2 separate regions of the Homo sapiens genome follow, and region 2 is linked to region 1. The links are contacts of gene promoters, found by promoter capture Hi-C in blood cells and fetal thymus (Javierre and others, 2016). All regions are on one chromosome and are shown on one strand. Each heading gives the region's core, a stretch centred on a gene start or on the middle of the fragment in contact. The rest is flanking DNA. Distances are from core to core; before and after follow the strand shown. Region 1 holds the start of FOXO3 (forkhead box O3). Region 2 holds the start of CDK19 (cyclin dependent kinase 19).

Region 1 (4,708 bases), core at 1,522-4,021:
CCTTCCTACGTTAACGTTTTAACTAAGTTTAAAGTTAACTAACTTTTCACTAACGTATTCTCCTCACCAAATTCAAACATGCAAGACTAAATTTCAAGTGAGAGAAATCTGAAAAACATTTCGAACCCCCAAATCCATGTTCTCAGATCCTGTCCGCTTACGCCTTCCTGATACTATACACTGATTAACCCTTCCCATCCACTTGGAAACCCAGTTTTAAAACATATCACACTAGTGCTCTTTTCAAATGGAATTGTCTAACTTTCATCCTTTCTGTAAAGAACTCTCGTATCATACACCTGGCATTCTTTTACAAAGCAATTGAATTAAACCAAATATAAGACTCATAATGTAAGCATTTGTTAAAAGAAATGAGACACATTAGTGGATTAATATCAAAGCACACGTGTTTTGCTTTTAAAGTATCTAATACAAAGCCTCTCTGATATAAGCCGTATTTAACTTTGCAAGGGTTTTCTAGAAGCAAAATAAAACATTCTCTACATTAAGTTCTTTAACTTTTTCATCTACAGGCTCGTCTCCAGTGCTTCCATTGAATTCTCCACTAAGATTAAACTGTTCTTATTTTTATACCTCCTGAAACCCAGGAAGACAGAGGGCTCCCCAATGACAATGAAGAAAGGGAAGGAGGAAGCAACTACTTCTTTTACATAAAACAAAACAAAAAAAAATCTAAGCTAAATTGCAAATATGGGCAGCTGATAAGAGATGTATATCTCCAATCGCACAGGACTCTTTGGCCTGGTACTGACACACACTGTCTTGGGGGAAGGGGCCAGGGAGGTGCCTAGGAAGAGGAAAGCAGCTGGATATCAGCAGCCCAGCAGGGGCAGAGGAGTTAATCTCTTTGGATACCCAACTGCAGGAAGTCATTACATCATAGGCCTTTCCACACCTCTCTCCCTACCACGTGTCCCGTGCCCCAAGAGGATGATAAGGAACGGTAGAGAGTCTCTCTTCGGGTTCATTTACAGGTAGAAGCCATTACGGCCCGGCCCAGCCCCCAAACCTCCTCCCAAACGCCAGAGTGAATGAAGCGCAGGCCCCGCGTCCCCCACACCAGAGCCCTTCCCTCAAACAGTGCCTGAATCCAGGCCTCGGCGGGAGCAGCGGGTGCAGCCAGTCTGGATTGAGGTGGCCAGACCGGCCGGTTCGAGGCCCCAGAACATTTCAGAAGCAGCTAGTCAGAAGCAGGTTTACTGGAGCGACATCTCCGAGAAGAAAAGGTATCAATATAGGCAAGGAAAGGAAGCCGTCCAGGAAAAGGTTTGCAACCACTGCTTTTTCTAATCGGATCGATGTGCCTGTAGGTGTTAACACCCACAAGCTGAAACTTGGACCCGAAGGTTCTCATTCAGCTAGTGACGACGCAACATGCTCCTGCGACAGACTGGAAACCACACATCCAACCCCTCCTCCAGACACTGCGTCCCAAACACCCCCACACCTCTCACTCCAGCCACAGCGCCCGCACCAGACCCCCACTACGGTAAACTCTACTCCAAAGTTGGCTGCGGACCTACCTCCTCGGTGCTGTCCGGAGAATCCAGCAAATGTACTCCTGTCCGTTCGCCCTTCCCTCGCCGGCGTCCCCTGCCCCCTCTCCTCACCTGGCCATGCCCCAAGCTTCTGGGGAGCCTCATTCACCCCTCCGAGACCGTCCCCAGGTGCCCCGACTCCGGGGATCAAAGATAACCCCCAAAGCCTCGCAGCGGAGGCTCCCCCTGCCAACCCCTTGCCCTGGAGCCCGCAAGCGCACTCCGACGAATCCGAGACGCGTCTCGCGCTGCGCAGGAGGCCCGGCGGGTCCTGCTGCCAGCCCGGGGTGGGTACGCACCTTCCAGCCGGCAGAGCTGTTGCTGTCGCCCTTATCCTTGAAGTAGGGCACGCAACGCACCATCCACTCGTAGATCTGGGACAGAGTGAGCCGTTTGTCCGGGGAGCTCTCGATGGCGCGGGTGATCAGGTCCGCGTAGGACAGGTTTCCCCAGGCGTTCCGCCGCGACGAACATTTCCTCGGCTGCCCGGAGCCCCCAGCCGCCCCCGGCTGCGGCGGTGGCAGCGGTTGCTGAGGCTGCAGCAGCGCCTGTGTACCCCCGCTCAGCCCGCCCGCCGCGGTGGCTGGCCCAGACCCGGGGTCTTGCCCTCCGGGTGCCAGCACCCGGGCCGAGTCCTCAAGGAGCAGCCCGGAGCCCAGCGTGCCGCTCCCGCCGCCGCCGCCGATCGCCATGGCCGAGCCGGCCCGTCCCCCGCCGTCCTCGTCGTCTTCATCGTCCTCCTCCTCGGGGATCATGGAGTCGGCGGCCGTCTCCCCCGAGGGCTTGGCAGGGCTCGCTTGGAGCTCCGGCCTTTGCAGGGGCCACGTACAGGATCGCGGACGGCTCTGGGGCTCGAACTCCGGGTCCAGCTCCACTTCGAGCGGAGAGAGCGGGGCCGGGGAAGCCGGTGCCTCTGCCATCTTCGCCGCCCGCCCGCCCGCGGCTGGGGCTCTCGCGCTCTCCTCTCGCGCCGGGGCGGGGTGCAGCGGGGGAGGGACGTGGACGCCGCGAAGGCTCCGGCTCCCGGGCGCCGCCGCCGCCGCCTGGGGAAGCACCAAAGAAGAGAGAAGGAGAGTTGGTTATCCCGGGCCGGAGCCCCGTCCTCGGCGAGTCCTCGCCCGCTGCCGCCACCTCCCAGTCCTGCCGCGCCCGCCTCCCAGGAACAGGAGGACCTGAAGACGTGCGGCCAGCGAACCTGGCGCAGCAGACACCGCCCCCCGGCCAGGCCGCGATGGAGCCGCGAGCGAATCGACGGCCTCGCGCGGGGCAGCCCCCTCCCCCCGCCGCCCAGCCGCAGGTCCCTCCCGGGCTAGGCGGCGGGGCGGGGAGAAGGGGGAGGGGCGCCCGGGGGAGGGGCGGCCGCGCCTTTAAAGCGGGCAGCGGCCGGAGCTGGCGCAGCCGAGCCGCGGTCAGAGCCCGAGCTCGGGTGTGCGTGCGTTTGTTTATGTTTCGCTCGGGCCCGCTCTAGTGCCTCCCGCGGCGCCGCCGCTCAAGTCTGTGCTGTCTTCGGCTCTTCTCCCCTTTCCTAGCCTGGCCGCCTCCGCGACCCCCCGTCACCCCCCACCCGGTCGAATGGCCCGAGCCCGGGGACTGCGCGGGCAGCTCCCTCTCCCCTCTTCGCCCGCGGGCCAGAGGGCGAACGGGGGTCTGGGCGCAGATGGGCCCTTGTCACTTCCAAAAAATAAAGGAAAGACAGAAAGAAGGGGGAGCAGCAGCCCAGCGGGTGTTCGCAGAGGTTCGAGCCCGGCGGGGACGGCCACTTCGGGGTTTTGTGTGGTTTGCATTCTCGCGGACGTCGTCCCCTCCGCCCCCTTCCCAGTCGGGATCCGGGGGAGGGAGCGAGTCGGAACATAAATCTTCCAACAGGTCGGGAAGCGCCAAGTCTCCCGGGCTGCTAGAAAACCCGGACCAGCACGTTCATCACCTCCTTGCTCCCGCTGCTGCCATCTTGACAGTTTCCCCCTTCCCGAGTCCTTTAAAAACACTAGCGGGCGAGAAGGGGGGCGCGCACACCGCGGCTCAGGGAGGGGAAAGGGAAGCGCCCGGCCCAGCTCGGAAGCAGATCCGGAGTCACCGGGAAGGCGGCCGCCCGCTGCACGGCTCCGGCGCCTACCTCGCTTCCTTCCCTTCAGGGACGCGGCGGGACGACGCACGATCCCGCGCGGGCCCGGGGCACGGCGAGGAGGGGGCGCGCAACCTCGGCGAAGGAGAAGCGCTCGGGCCGTCGCCGCAGCCCGCCCGAGGAACCGCCTGTCAGCTCGCGCGCCGCCACCTTCCACATTCCTCCTCCTCCCTTCCACGAGCAGGGCGGCCGCGGCAGCAGCACAAAGTTATAGACACACGCAGGGCGCCTCAACCTAGGCTGACGGCGGGCGGGTCCCCGCCCAGGGGGAGGGCTGGGCGGCGGGCTGGGCGGCGGGCCGGGCGCGCGGCGGGCGTGCGTGTGTGAGTGCGCGTGTGTGAGCTCGCGCGCGCCTGCGCGGCCCGGCTCCGCGGGGCTGCGGGCGTGGGTGTCCGGGCGCGCGCCGTGGGCCGGGACTCGGCGGGCTCCCGCTGCTGTCCCCGCTGGGCTCCTCCTCCCTCCCGAGAGTCTCAACGACAACAAAGCGCGGCGCTGGCCCGGGAGAGGAGGGAGAAGGGGGGAGAAGGGAGGAGAGGAGGAAGAAGTGGGGAGAGGAGGGAGAAGGGGGAGCGGCAGGAGCGCACAGCCCCCGACGCTCCAAGGAGCGCAGCGGCGTGGCCTCCCTGACTCCGGGCAGGGCGCCTGGTACCAGGGGGTCCCTGGCCTGCGCGTCCGCCCGCCGGGCTCTGGGCCAGCCCCGGTGTCCGGTTCCCTGTTAGAACGCGACACCAGGTAACACCCGAGATAAGATGCTGGCCGCAAGATGGGCAGGGTTATCGCGGTGTGGAAATACTGAACGGCGAAGATGTTGGTGCCTGCACAACTTCGATAAGCTGATGCTCACAGATTCGATCAGGCACCAAAAGGTTTGCACTGAGTCTCTCACCTCGGACGGTGGACCACAGTCGTGTTTCACTTTTCATGGGTTTCATGGCAAACGGGGGAGAGGTGTAACTAACTCCGGAAGAAATGCAAATTTACCCCCGTCCTACATTCAAGAGCAGATTCCGAACAACTGAGAAGGGGA
Region 2 (4,708 bases), core at 671-3,170, 2.3 Mb before region 1:
ATCCACCCGCCTTGGCCTCCCAAAGTGCTGGGATTACAGGTGTGAGCCACTGCACCCAGCCTGAAGAGACTCAAGGTCTAAGGAAGTTTTCCAGGAGTGGGTGATGTAGCAAATAAGGTAAATCATTCCCCCTCCCACTAGTTTTCCAAGTTTCTTTCAAAACCTAGCAGGCAGTTCACTATTCTTTCCTTATCTACCACTTTGGGTAGAATTGACAATTCCCTTCTTTGTCCTCCTAATGAATGTGTTATGTCCTATCCTAGCACCAATCATGTTTAAGTGTGTATCCCAAACATTTGGGACATTAGGCTCACCATTACAGGGGAGGAAACCCTCTTAGGTTCTTCAGCTGGTCTATAAACTAAATTGATACCAGTCAGGTTAACAGGAGAAAAAGTTTTAATTACGTATGTATGCACAAGAGTCCCACAAAATATGAGACTCAAAGAAGGGCCAGATGTTTGACACTTATATTACATCCTGACCTCAAAAAGGAAGTGGGGCCCGGCATGGTGGCACGGACCTGTAATCCCAGCTACTCAGGAGTCTGAGGCAGGAGGATCCTTGAGCTCAGGAGTTGGACGCCAGCCTGGGCAACACAGCAAGGCCAGTCTCTTCAAAACAAAAGTGGGGTTTGGGGCTTCCAGGAGTGGTGGAGACAAGTTAAGAGAGGATAAGAGGAAAAAATGTCTAAGGTGAATAAAGGTTGACTTTTATGCAGATAAAAGTATCTCAGATGATACAAGTTGACTAGCAGCAGCTCTCTTTCTGGTAAGATTCCTTTAATTACGAAAATTTCCTTTAGAAATGTAAATTTCTCTTTACAAAGGAAGAGTTATTCTTTATTTTAGGCAGTAGTGGGATAAGTGAAGCATTTTCCTGTGTTGGCTGGATCTTAATTTATTTTGCTAAAAGACATCAATATGCCAGAGTGGCGTATTTTGGGGTGGCATATTCTGGACTCCTTCAGTTATAATTTGGGGTAGTGTGTCCTGAGCCCCAACACAATGAAATCAATCAACGTTCACCCTAACTAAAGGGGCTTTCTTAAACATTCTAGAACCTCACATCATGCATAGACCATAAAAAATCCTTTACAATTCAACCCAAAGGATCGTAAACGCGGCTTCCTCCAGGCACTTTTAATTGTCCTTAGACAGATGGCCAAAGCCTGGTTATGGGAACCGCATATGCTAAGAGAAAGCTGACTACAGCGCCAAGAAAATGATGATTGGCTGCTGGGGCTCAGAAGTTGCATGTTCTCCTCTGGCCAAGGCAGGCTCTAGGAAACTGCTGAAGGTTCAGTTTTTGAAATACGGTTTTTGCATCGTAAAGAAAAAAGATCAACCTATCAGGAAGAACCGAGCACATCCAATCACCAATCAAGAGCGGGAAAGAAGCCAAAGCCTGGGGATACCCACGCACCAACGAGGACGTCATTCTCCAGCCCCCGCCAATGAGCAGCGGGACGGGGGGCGGGGCAATAGGCGGACCCACTGCCCTAGAAAAGAAACAAGCTGCGGTACAACTGTCCTCACCAGCCCTCGCCTCCCGAGTCACTGCAGCCAACCCTTCAGCAAGGTGCTGATTTAATGCTTTCCATACTCTCTGCGTGGGGCTAGTTACAGTGAAGTATCCCCTTCCCACTAGAGTAAGGCACTTCTTTCCAGTGTCTCCCCGAGAACCGCAGAAAGCACACTGGAACTTCGAGCTTTCTACCTTCACAGGAACCGGGAGCCGTGCGCTACCTGAGGGGGAGGGGCGGCCCTGGTACGCAGGCGCGCATGCTTTGTGGGGGCGAGGCTGTGGTGGCCCGAGGTAACCTGGGAGCTGTATTTCTTACGCCGGCAAAACCGCCCAGGCCGCTGAGGCCTTCGCGACTTCATTTCCCAGGAGCCTCCGCGACCATGGGGCGGGCCAGTGAGTTCGCTAATGAGCTCGAGGAAGCCACGGCGCGGCCCACCAGGTTCCAAAACAAGGAAATGAAGGAGGGAGGCGGGACTGGGGGTGCCTGCGGGAGCCGCCGCCGCCGTCGCGGAGGAGGAGGAGGAAGAGGTGGAGGAGGTGGCTGCTGTGGCCGCCGAGGAGTCCCTTGCTGAAGGCGGACCGCGGAGCGGCGGGCGGCGGGCGGCGCGCGCGCGCGCGCGAGAGGCGGCTGTTGGAGAAGTGGAGCGGCGGTCGCGGGGGGAGGAGGAGGAGGGACTGAGCGGCGGCGGCCCCCGCGTCCCGTGCCTCTATGGGGGAAGCAGACAATGGATTATGATTTCAAGGCGAAGCTGGCGGCGGAGCGGGAGCGGGTGGAGGATTTGTTTGAGTACGAAGGGTGCAAAGTGGGACGCGGCACCTACGGTCACGTCTACAAGGCGAGGCGGAAAGATGGGTAAGAGCAGGGGCGGGAGGAGTAGGCTCGCTCGGGTCCTCGCCCTGCCCGCGACCTGGCGGGATGGGTGGGTCGGATCCCAGTCGGGCCGTGCCCGAGGGGCGAGGCGGAGGGGGTCGCGGGGTTGCGTCCGGACACCGACTCCGAGGGGCGCCCGTTCCGCCCGCCTCCCCCGCGCGGCCCCGTCGCGTACCTCGAACTCCCGCGGCGCAGCCCGGTCCGAGGCGTCGGTCCCGTCCCAGAGGGGCGCCCTCCGAGTGCTCGGAGACGGCGGGGGGACTCGAGTTGGGACCGCGGTGGAGGAGGAGTTTGTGGGGTCTAGTCTCTTGGGGGAACGCAGCGGGCAGGCAGAGCTCCGCTGCGGAGTTGCCGCTCCGGCCCTGGGTAGTGACGGTCGTTGTGGAACTTCCAATCGGCTGAGCGCCTCGCGGGGGCGGCGGTTTGAAACCTCGCCGGGGAGCCTGTCGGGCGAACGCGGCCTGGGGTCCTCGCCAGCCCCACGGCTCTGACCCGCTGGGCACCGCCGCCCCCAGCAGCGATCTCCGCCCTTCGGGCTGGCCGGCCCGTTGGCTTCTCTATGCAGTCCTCCCATCCCTGTTGTATGCCCGGCGTCCCGGGTTTCTCATTCTCACATTCTGAATTGCGTACCTTCCCCCTTCGAAGGAGACCTGATGGGCTAGCTGCGTTTCGCAAGCGGCAACTTAAGAGTTGGCTGAATTCTCTGCTACCCACCCTTTACCTTGCAGCCCCTTGGGTATCTTGGGTATTATGTCCTCCACTCCATCCTCTGCCAGATGACTGTGGGCTGGGGCTTATGGAGTACCTATATTATCAAGAACGGAATACGAAGTGACAGAGCTGGGCCTGAACCTTTGTTTTCCTAGGAGTTGAGGGAGAACTGTAGGAACACCTTGGGAAGCCTTTACTGGTTGTCCTCTTAAGAAGAGCTGGATAATGTACTGAGAATACCTGTCCTTTCTTGGTCCTGGAGGGCAGACAGCAGCTACAGCAGGACTGGTGGAACCAGCTTCCTGGCAGGAATTACCCTCCCCCAAAGCTAGGGACCCAGGAAGATGCCCTGTCCAGCATAGACTTTAAAGAGAGTCAAACTCTACGGAAGAGGATTGTAACGGACCATTTCTGAATAAAGTGATGATCAGCCACAATGACATTAGTAAAATTTGAAGTGCCGCTTATCTTTGTGCGTGCTGTTATAATTTGATGTGGTTGGTATATGAACTCTAGGACTAAAGTACGTTGTGTGCGTATGCACTAACTTCATAAAACAACTCTATTATAAAGTGTTTTGTCATAAGGTATCGTGAAAATTGCAAAGTGCTATCCAAGTGTAAAGGATTATTATTATTGCAGAATTTTTTTTTTCTTTTGTAACTGAACAGGCCTTAAGGTACTCAGTTGTTTCTCATAATTCCTTTAATTACCAGGTGTCCTTGAATGCTTATCATGGAATGTGAGATACTATAATTAACATATTTTGGTTTTGGAATATCCACTCCACCTGTTATACTAGTGTTCTTGTGGGAATTTTATCAGTTATATTTGGGGAAAGCACATCCAGTTTTCCGTTTGGACATTGTTAATAAATCTGAGGTGGGTTTTTCCCATACTCCTCATGCTAACTTTGTGGTATACTTTTGGTTTTAAAAAATGTATCTTAGTGTTTTTTTTGTTAAAATAGCTTTCTTTTATTAGGGAACTTTTGAGAAGTTAAAAATTCTGCTTCTGAATTGTATTTGAATAGTATGGGCTTACAACAAAAACCAGATAATTCTTGCTTCTATTCTTTTTGAATATTTTTCCCCTCTAATAAAGTACTTGATTCGAATACACTTCCTTTTTGAGTGAAATTTGTTAATTAGAATTAATAAAGCTTCTTTACTAGAGTAAGATTAGTTTGTGTGTCTTCAAAATATAATGCTTTTTTTCTAAAAAAAAAAAAAACCTCTCAGGATCTGAAAGCATTAGTTTAAATCACTGTATTACGTATAAGAAAAACCGTAATAAAGGCTTTTTTCCTGGATGAAAGATCTGGTTGAGATTTGCAACTTTACAGTAAACACCCACGTCTCTTGTGGGTTGGTAGTGGGATTAATTTTATGTTCATTGATACCAGCAATTTGAAAGAACATCTGTGTCCTTTGGGTTCATGTTAAATTTTTTTTTTTTTTTTTTTTTACTGTTTTAAACAGTGGGCAGATTTGCATAGTAAAGGATTTTACACTCCGATCATGGTAGATTACAGTTTAGCTCTTTCTAGATTTTATTTTGGTTAACTCAGAAAATGCATAATGCTATTTTAGGGAGCCA

Evidence for each region. Contacts are between HindIII fragments. The CHiCAGO score rates a contact against its expected background, and 5 or more counts as called.
Region 2: a contact is called between the fragment with the promoter of CDK19 here and the fragment with the promoter of FOXO3 in region 1, in 1 of 17 cell types (non-activated CD4 T cells). The highest score is 6.1, in non-activated CD4 T cells.

The regions. Positions count from the first base shown.
Region 1 is chr6:108,558,980-108,563,687 of GRCh38, reverse strand. It overlaps FOXO3 (forkhead box O3), which reads right to left and starts at 2,771. Exons shown (of 3, transcript NM_001455.4): 1 at 1,859-2,771. The coding sequence starts at 2,479. RefSeq lists enhancers at 688-982, 1,794-2,294 and silencers at 2,738-2,957, 3,937-4,006, 4,047-4,406. The HindIII fragment of the contact is 5,662 bases long and covers 1,650-4,708 here.
Region 2 is chr6:110,812,681-110,817,388 of GRCh38, reverse strand. CDK19 (cyclin dependent kinase 19) reads left to right here and starts at 1,920. Exons shown (of 13, transcript NM_015076.5): 1 at 1,920-2,380. The coding sequence starts at 2,253. It also overlaps a transcript of AMD1 not described here. RefSeq lists enhancers at 1,620-1,699, 2,273-2,825, 3,060-3,169 and a silencer at 2,340-2,649. The HindIII fragment of the contact is 5,084 bases long and covers 1-4,273 here.